Regions from separate parts of the Homo sapiens genome. Here region 2 is linked to region 1. The links are contacts of gene promoters, found by promoter capture Hi-C in human tissues and cell types (Jung and others, 2019). All regions are on one chromosome and are shown on one strand. The core of a region is centred on a gene start or on the middle of the fragment in contact, and the rest is flanking DNA. Distances in the headings are between cores, read along the strand shown. Region 1 holds the start of IFNLR1 (interferon lambda receptor 1). Region 2 overlaps NIPAL3 (NIPA like domain containing 3).

The links. The method cuts DNA at HindIII sites, captures the fragments that hold promoters and counts their contacts. A contact is called where the count stands out against the background at its distance.
Region 2: a fragment that was not itself captured here is called in contact with the fragment with the promoter of IFNLR1 in region 1 in 1 of the 25 tissues and cell types used here (IMR-90 fibroblasts).

Annotation. Positions count from the first base shown.
Region 1 is chr1:24,184,963-24,189,574 of GRCh38, forward strand. It overlaps IFNLR1 (interferon lambda receptor 1), which reads right to left and starts at 2,327. Exons shown (of 7, transcript NM_170743.4): 1 at 2,229-2,327. The coding sequence starts at 2,286. RefSeq lists a silencer at 2,100-2,589. The HindIII fragment of the contact is 7,685 bases long and covers 1-4,612 here.
Region 2 is chr1:24,456,400-24,461,011 of GRCh38, forward strand. It overlaps NIPAL3 (NIPA like domain containing 3), which reads left to right. Exons shown (of 12, transcript NM_020448.5): 9 at 2,489-2,577; 10 at 4,082-4,145. Among named protein-coding and RNA genes, the nearest start is that of NIPAL3, 43 kb to the left of the region's middle. RefSeq lists an enhancer at 1,210-1,711. The HindIII fragment of the contact is 5,272 bases long and covers 79-4,612 here.

The DNA.
Region 1 (4,612 bases), core at 1,077-3,576:
GAGCCGAGATTGCGCCACTGCACTCCAGCCTGGGTGACAGAGTGAGACTCTGTCTCAAAATAAATAAATAAAATAATAATAATAATAATAGCAGCTAATGTGTATTGTGTTCTGTGAGCCAGGTTCTGTGCTAAACAGTTTACCTGCACTTTCTCTTTTAATCCTCATTACATCCCTAGGAGGTAGGTATTCATTATAATAATTATAATCGTTACAGATGGGAAAACCAAGGCCCTCTCAGCTATTAAGTTGTAGAATCAGATTCAGTCCAGGCCTAGCCAACTCCAAAGTCCGAGCTCTTGACTGTACTTTGTCTTCTAGGTTCTCATGGGGTCTATTGAGCTTTATGATTCCAACTATTCCATCTATTGACCACTACGAGTCAAACAAGATCTGTTGACCACGGTGTGCCAGGGGTTTCAAAGAAGAACACAACTTCATTCCTGCCCTATAGGAGCTCATGGTCCCATGGAGAATTCAGGGTCCTGAAGTGTCCCATGTGCCATGATGGAAATCCATACGGGTTGCAAAATGGCATCAGGGAGGGAGGGTCCAGTTCTGTGGATGGCTGTCCCCAGCCTCGGCTGCCTACCCATCACCTTCTAGACCCAAAAGTGGGTGCCTGCTTCCACCTCATCCTGTGTCCTCTAGCTGGGACTGTATCACCACGAGGCTAGTGCTATTACTACTCCCAGCTTCTGGACTTCCTAACGGGTGACCAGCAGGAGACCAGGCTGTCTGCAAGCCACTTGTAAGGTATCCTATGGGCAGGACAGTCCCCAGATTCGAGCTAGGTCACATGAGAAAAACAGCAGTTAGAGCAACTTTCCTCTATGAAGCCTTCAAAGGATGCCAGGCACTAGTTTGGCTCTTTACATGTAAAACCTCAATCACCCTTGGGACAGACCACCCTATGGGGTAGGTGTCATTCATTCTGCTTCCATGGAAAGGGCGCTAGGCTCAGAGACAGATGCTAACTAACTTGCCTGAGGCTACACAGTCAGTTTGTGTGGGAGCCAGTATTTGAACTTAGATCTGGCTGTACTTACTCCTAAATCATCACACCATAGTTAGTGTTGTGTATATTAAATACTTATCAGGTGAAAGTACAAGAAGGTCTGGGTTTGACAGTGAAAGGGGAACAGAAGACCCCACCCTCCCTCCACACACAGGTACACGGTCCCTCATCAGCCACAGAGAACGCTGCTGTGGGCACTGGGGGCTGGAGCATCCCTGGCTGGCCTAGTGACCCAGTGGATGGACAGCCTGTCCCACGTGCCTACCCTGGAGGCAAAAGCTAGCCAGGCTTGCTTTAGCCCCTCTTCTCTCTTCTGTGTGCCTCACCTCTGCCATCCTTCTTGAGGAATTCCCTGAATTGCTCTGAGCCTCAGTTTTCCCATCGGAAAAGTAAAAATAATATCTACCTCCGAGGATGGCTGGGTCGTGAGGCTTCCAGAATAATGCGGTGCCTGGCACAAAGAAGTTGCTGAATAAATATAGGCTTTTATGATGATTGGATTATGCCCAGGGACCTTTACAGCTCTTTAAACTGTGAGTCCAAGACTAGGAAAATATCCTGGGGGCGATTTCTGGACCTTCTCTTCCCTGCTTCGGTTGGAGTCGTGGGCGGTGAGGTTTGGTGGTTGGGTCCTACGGCGAGGAATTTTGTACCTGACACCTTACTCATCAGTAGAGGTGGGAAAACAACAACAACAACAACAACAACAAAACAACAACAAAACAACAACCACCACCAAAAGAAAGCCGTCTTGTTAGAAAGCAGGGCACAGGCGACCAGAGCTCCGTCCCACCAGAGGCCTGGCAGGAACGGGAAGGGACATCAATCGGTCCCACTTTCCCTGCTGTCCACACTTTAGGGTCAAGTGTGGTTTTCACGCAGGGATCAGTGCTTTCTTTAGGAAACATTAAAAAGCACTTTATTAAAAAATATGCAGTATCAAACTGCCGCTGTCTTTTTTCTCCAGTTCTCCTGAAGCTGGAAGCATTAGGAAACTGGATTCGTTTCCTGCGGGAGAGGAATATCAAAGACCCGGTTCTGTTCAGTCCTGGGAAGAAGCAAACTGGGGGCGCGTAGGCAGGGCCGATTCGCACCCGGCTCGGGTGGCTGCGGACCCCGTGCCTGTCCCAGGAGCTCCGGGTCCGAGGGTAGGCGCGGCCCGGCCCGGGGAGCCCTCTTCCCCCTCCCTCCCGCGGCCCCGCGCCCTTACCTGGAGCGGCCTGCAGCAGGCACAGGAGCAGGGGGCCCCAGCGCTCGGGCCCCGCCATGGCCTTCCTGCCGCGGCGTCCCCGCCCGGGCCCAGGTCCCCGCCTCCCGCCTCCCGCCTCCCGTCTCCTAGCCCACCGCGGGCAGGTGACGCAGTCGGCAGCCAATGGCCCGCAGAGCCGCGGGCCCGTCCCTGCCGCCTAGGATTCACTGAGAAGGTCCCTGGGGACAGCCCCGCCGCGGGGGGAGGGGGGGGGGGGAGCGCGCCGGTCCCCGCGCTCGAAACTCGCCCGTACCTCTGCTTCATCTGCACTTAGTTTTGTTTTACTCAATTCCCGGAAAAAAAAATCAGTAAATCCGTGCACGGGGGAAGGGCAGGGGAGGGGAAGAAACCGGCTGATGATCAATAACCCACGGCCAGTCCAGTGCTCCAGGACGGGCCATTTTGGCAGGATTAGGGAGAGTTCAAGGCCGGTTTGGCTACGCGGCCTCAATGCCATTGGCGGGATCCGAGCGCGTTTCTGAGCCGGATGCTGAGCTCCGCGCCTTACACACGCGATTCCCTTTAATGCCCCCGGGGATCCCGGCGGATCCGTGCTGCCCTTCTCCACGTACTTCTCTCCCGGGGAGCGGCAGGCCCCAGAGCTTCAGGTGCTTGTTCTGGGGAAAGCTGTCTTTCTGACCCCGAAGGCTGTGGTGTTCACCTGGACAGCAGTAGCTTCCCAGTAAGGCACACGCCACGACGCGCAATATTATGCGGCCCTTTAGGAGGACGTTGCCGAATGGTGTGTATCGACACCGAGGTGTTTGCAACACACTGAGAAACAGAAAAGCGAGTGCTAAAACATAGGCCCATTAAAAAAGTGTGTGTGTAGCCGGGCGCGGTGGCTCACGCCTGTAATCCCAGCACTTTGGGAGGGTGAGGCGGGTGGATCGCCTGAGGTCAGGAGTTGGAGACAAGCCTGGCCAACATGGTGAAACCCCGTCTCTACTAAAAATACAGAAAATCAGCCGGGCGTGGTGGCATTCACCTGTAATCCCAGCTATCAGGGAGGCTGAGGCAGGAGAATCGCTTGAACCCAGGAGGCGGAGGTTGCAGTGAGCCGAGATCGCGCCACTGCACTCCAGCCTGGGCGACAGAGTGAAACTCAGTTTCAAAAAAAAAAAAAAAAGTGTGTGTGTGTGTGTGTGTGTGTGTGTGTGAGTCTGTCTGTATGCATAGAAAGATATTTGGAATAATAATTACCAAAATATTAATGGTTGTTGTCTTTGGGTGATGAGGATTTTCTTTTTCAACTTTCTTCTTTTCTGATCATATTTCGTTTCCAATTTTTTGATAATTATTTGAAACTGGGATCAGCTTTGGTCCCATCAGTTTTTGGAAGAGAAAATGATTTTCACAGAGCTTGGTGGGTCCAAAAGTTGCTCTGAGTTTAACCGCGGGGGAAATTTCTTTTGGAAATTTCAGGATGCTTCTGGGACTAGCATCAAGGCTTCTGCTTAATCAGGATTTTTTTTCTTTTTTTTTTTTTAGACAAAAGCTCTGTCGCCCAGGCTGGAATGCAATAGTGTGATCTTGGCTCACTGCAACCCCGCCTCCTGGGTTCAAGCTATTTTCTCACTTCAGCCTCCCAAGTAGTTGGGATTACAGGCACCTGCCATCATGCTCAGCTAATTTTTGTAGAGATGGGGTTTCACCATGTTGGGCAGGCTGGTCTTGAACTCCTGACCTCAGGTGACCTCAGCCTCCCAAAGTGCTGGGATTACAGGCATGAGCCACTGTGCCTGGCCTTAATTAGGATCTCTTAACAAAGCCCTGCTCACAGAGGACGCAATTCCACCTCAAAGGCGCAGGGTGGAGGAGGATGGAAGAGCAGCAGGCACGGTCAGTGTTGGTATCTTGGGATCTCTGAAATGTTGACTGTTGACTTTCTTTTCTCCTTCCTTCCTTCCTTTCTCTCTCTTTCTTTCTTTCTTTCTTTCTTTCTTTCTTTCTTTCTTTCTTTCTTTCCTTCCTTCCTTCCTTCCTTCCTTCCTTCCTTCCTTCTTTTTTCTCTCTCTTTCCTTCTTTCTTGCTTTCTTATTTTCTTGCTTTCTTTTTTTTTGACAAGAGTCTCACTCTGTCACCCAGGCTGGAGTGCAGTAGCGTGATCATGGTTCACTGCAACCTCTACCTACTGGTTCAAGCGATTCTCATGCCGCAGCCTGCCAAGTAGCTGGGACTACAGGCGTAAGCCACCATGCCCAGCTAATTTGTGTATTTTTAGTAAAGACGGGGTTTCGCCATGTTGGCCAGGCTAATCTCGAACTCCTGGCCTCAAGTGATCTGCCCACCTCGGCCTTCCAAAGTGCTGGGATTATAGGCATGAGCCATGCACCCGGCCCTGA
Region 2 (4,612 bases), core at 1,465-3,964, 270 kb after region 1:
GGAGAGAGGAGCTGCTAATTTGCTGAGTTGTCACCTGGAGGGACACCTGCCACTCAAAAGACGAAGCCAGGCCAGGCTCAGTGACCCACGCCTGTAATCCCAGCTCTTTGGGAGGCTGAGGTGGGTGGGTCACTTGAGGCCAGGGGTTTGAGACTAGCCTGGCCAACATGGTGAAACCCCGTCTTTACTAAAAATACAAAAAAATAAAATAAAATTAGCTGGGCATGGTGGCACATGCCTGTAGTCCCAGCTACTCAGGAAGCTGAGACACAGAATTAAAAAAGAAAAAAGAAAGAAATACGAAGCCAGCAGTGGATGGATTTTTCCCCACTCCCTCAGAATGTGATAATTTTTGTTTGTTTGCTTGTTTGTTTGTTTTTTGAGATAGAGTCTCACTCTGTTGCCTAGGCTGGAGTGCAGTAGAGCCATCTCGGCTCACTGTAACCTCTGCCTCTGGGGTTCAAGCGATTCTCCTGCCTCAGCCTCCCAAGTAGCTGGGACTACAGGTGTATGCCACCACACCCGGCTAATTTTTGTATTTTTAGTAGAGACGAGATTTCACTTTGTGGGCCAGGCTGGTCTCAAACTCCTAACCTCAAGTGATCCACCCACCTTGGCCTCCAAAGTACTGGGATTACAGGCATGAGCCACAACACCTGGCCAGAATGTGAGAAATTTGTGGTTGGAGGCAGCCTTACTTCCCATCTTCTCCGGGGCAGATGATCGTCTCAGGGGCCTCGGAAGCATGGCCATCCCTAGGAGGCACCTGCTTGTCTGCTGGGTTGGAAAGAAAAGTTGTCATTTCTTGACTTCAGTATATCACCTCCAAATCTTCCTGAGTGGAAGGCAAAGTGCCCCCTCCTCTTTCTAAGCATGAAGTTAAATAAAAGGCAGCAGCCTGAGGGCAGGGCCTGTGTCTTGTTTGCGTTTGAGTCCTGGAGCCCAACAGAGGGCCTGGGAGGAGAGGCTCTAGGAATCTTGTAGGTGACAAAACCTGTGTAGGTACACAGGACTCAGCAGCGCACAAGGCTGATTCAACCTGGGAAGCTCAGGCTCAGACTGAAGGTCCACCAGCTACATGGCCTCCAGGCACCATAGGAGCAGCTGCTGCTGGCCCGGTGTGAGCCCAGCTCTTTTCTCAGTGCTTTATGGAACCAGCTCATTTGGTCCTTACAACACTCCTTTGATGTACAGGATATTATCCCCATTTTGCATACGAGGAACTGATGCGGAGAGAGTAAGAGGCTAGAAAGTGGCGGAGCTGAGATCTGAACCCAGGTGTCTGGCTCCCCAGCCCATGCCCTCACTGCTCTGCTCTTCTGTCGCCTACTCAGCTTCTCCAAGACAGATTCTTCACCTGCTAATGAGAACAACAGTCCCTACCTAAGAGAATCACATGAAGCTCTTATGAGAATGTCTCTAGGGAAATGCCCGGTAAACATGAGCTGCTTCTATGATTATTGGCCTTGCTATTGTTATTTTGGTTATTATTTTTGGTCCCACTACAACAATTCCAGTCATCACCTGGAAGCCCCTGCCAGTCAAAGGCCCTGTGCTGAGCACTCCAGGTGTCACAAACATGGCTCAGATGCCACCGCCCACCTCCTAAGGAGCTACTCATTCCCTAGCCAGTGCAGCCCACTGAGGGTGCTCAGCACACAGAGATGATGAGGGTAGTCACTCACTGCCCTCAGGCATTCACGGCCCTGGCTGGGGGACAGCCAGTGAAGAAACTAGTACAGCCAAGCTGCATGCAGTGGCTCACACCTGTAATCCCAGCTACTCAGGAGGCTGAGGCAGGAGCATTTGAGCCCCGTAGTTAGAGGCTGTGGTGAGCTGTCATTTTGCCACTGCACTCCAGCCTAGGCCACAAAGCGAAGTAAAAAAATAAAAGCAATTGAGTGGTGAGCATGGTGTAAGCAACTATGCAGAGAAAGGGCAAAGAATATCTTCCAAAACAAGGGTATTGTTTATCATAGATGGAGTGATTAGGAAGGACTCTAATTTTCTCTTTTTCCTGTATTTATTTCAGTGATCACATTATTTTCAAATTAAAAAGAAATTTTGTTTAAAAGAATAATTATGACACTAGGCAGAACGTGATTAGTGCTGTAAGAGTTTCTGGGGGCAGGGGTATAAGAGATGCAGGAATGGCTCTTTTTAGTGGGGTGGGGATACGGGGGGTGAGGAGAAGGGCATTTCAGGTGACAGGAGCCGTGCAGCCAAAGGTGTGAGACCATGATGGCATGGTTCAATTGGGAAATGGGGATGGGCCTTAGCTGTGTGTCTAGGGGAAGAGTGGGAATCAAGTATGGGCCCCAGACTAGGGATACACAATGTCCTGTAACATGAGGGTGGCATTTTTAGAAACCCAAGGAACATTCCTAAATGTATCATCTTCATATTTCAAACCAAACTCTACTGTTGTCAGCTCTTAGCCTTTCCAACGTCTCCACAGCCCACTGACTGGAGTGCTTTTGTGTTGAAGGTTTTTGAGTCAAGCCTCACAGATGTACGACTCCTCTTTGATTGCCAGTGTGGGCTACATTCTGTCCACAACCATTGCTATCACAGCAGGTAAGGGTGACCCATTGCTAGATTTCTGTCTTCTACTTTAGCAGCAGGGTATTATCCCAGGGCAGAGGGAGGCTGATTCTGCTGACTTGTTCTCCCCGTAGAGTGATTTATGGGTTCATGGAGAATGTGCAGGATTTCCAGACAGAGAGACCCGGGTTTGTATCCCAGCACAGACGCACATCAGCTCTGCAAACATCACTTAACCTCTCTGAGCCTCAGCTCCACATTCATAAAATGGGAGTGATAACACTTAGCTCCTAGAATTGTAATGGGTATGATCCAAATGTGCCCTATGCCATACTGTGTGTACTTTAACAAGTTTTGCTATCTTCTAGCTCCACAACCCCCACTGGCTAAGTGACCACAAATCTCTTCTGTATAATTTTAGAGATTATGAATATGCATAGCACTGCAACATCATCAATGCTCAATAAGTGATCATTAGCATTACAGCCCCCTTTTCCTCTATTTCACCTCTAATTTTTTTTTGCATTTTCTTTCTGTAGTGGCCTCAGAGGCTGCAATCATATAAAGCTGTTTGTTAATTTGTTTAAATGGCATAATAGGTGACTAAAATCTTCAGAGTAAAAAATCCAATAAGAACTAAGTGCTTTCCTTTGGTGAAAGCCTGGCTGTAAAGCCCTATGCTCTGCCAACACTTAAGACAAGTGGTGCCGCAGTTCCTGTCTACACAGGAGGAACACACGAGGCGCACAGCTTCCAGGGCCCATGCTGTGAGCAGCACCAGGGGCCATGAGGCATTGACCCAGAGCAGCCAGAAGCCATAAGCTAAGTCAGGGTCAAGAAGCTTGGTCAAGAAGCGTGAAGTCCAGTCAAGGTTGAAAGGAATCACAAACACCATGGTTGAGTGAGAACAGAAGTCAAGGCAGGGAATCAGGAGCTCAGGAATACAGCTGGAGGCCTGTGTGGGTGAGATGATTCTGGACAAAGGCTGGCTCAGGGCAGGCGCAGTAGGCCCACCCCACTCCCATACCACAGGAGTAGACCCACAGACTTGGGATCTACTGGCCACATGAGGTTAGAAAGCTCTAACAGCATAAGCACAAAGCCTTGTTTATCTATCTTAAGAAAGATGGAGGGGAGATGACTGCAGGCACAAACTGGTAAATAGGGTCTGTGGTTTGGTTAGTAAGTGTTCATTGTCGTTTTCCTGCTTTGATTATGCACTGTGGTTATGGAAGATATGACTGGGGAAAGCTGGAGGAAGGGTGCATGGGAACTCTACACCATTTTTGTGAGTCTAATATTATCCCCCAATAAAAGTTAAAAAACAACATGGAGATCAGAGGGGTCTAAGGTGGAAAAAAGTTGACAACCTGATCCCCTAAATGGCTTTTATTCCTTTCTTCTTGTAAGGCACAGTCATAAGTTTTGATCATTTTAGTTTCCTAAATGGAAGAGAGCTTAGCCAAATCCTAGACAGACTGGCAGATGGGTGATTTGAAAACAGCTCAGCGGTATTTTCTATGATTTGCTGCTGCAGGTGCAATATTTTACCTGGACTTCATCGGGGAGGACGTGCTGCACATCTGCATGTTTGCACTGGGGTGAGTTCTGTCCTGCTTGCCAGCCCCAAAACATTGTGTGTAGAATTCCAAGCAGGTTGCCCCTCTCTCTCCCTTATTGCTACAGCCGCCCCATCCTTTAGAGTCAGAGGAGCTGTGGGGTTTTGGAGCTTTGTCCCCAGAGGTGAGCGTTTTATTCCTCTAAGGGCTTTATCTTCCCCTTCTCTTTTGGACTCTAATCTCTTTGGCATTTCTCAAATATCACATTTTGACACATGAAAAGTCTCTCAACCTCACCTCGGATCTAAGAAATGCATATTGAAGCTACATGAGATACCATCATTTTGCAAAAACTAACAGGATTAATAGTATTCCACATTGGCAAGAAGATGAGGAGGCCCGCCTACTACCACACTGTTAGCATACTTGAATGTGGGAGGAAAATTTAACAACAGCAACAAAAAATCCAAACAAGCATACTTTTTGATACAGTATTCCATTCTAATCAT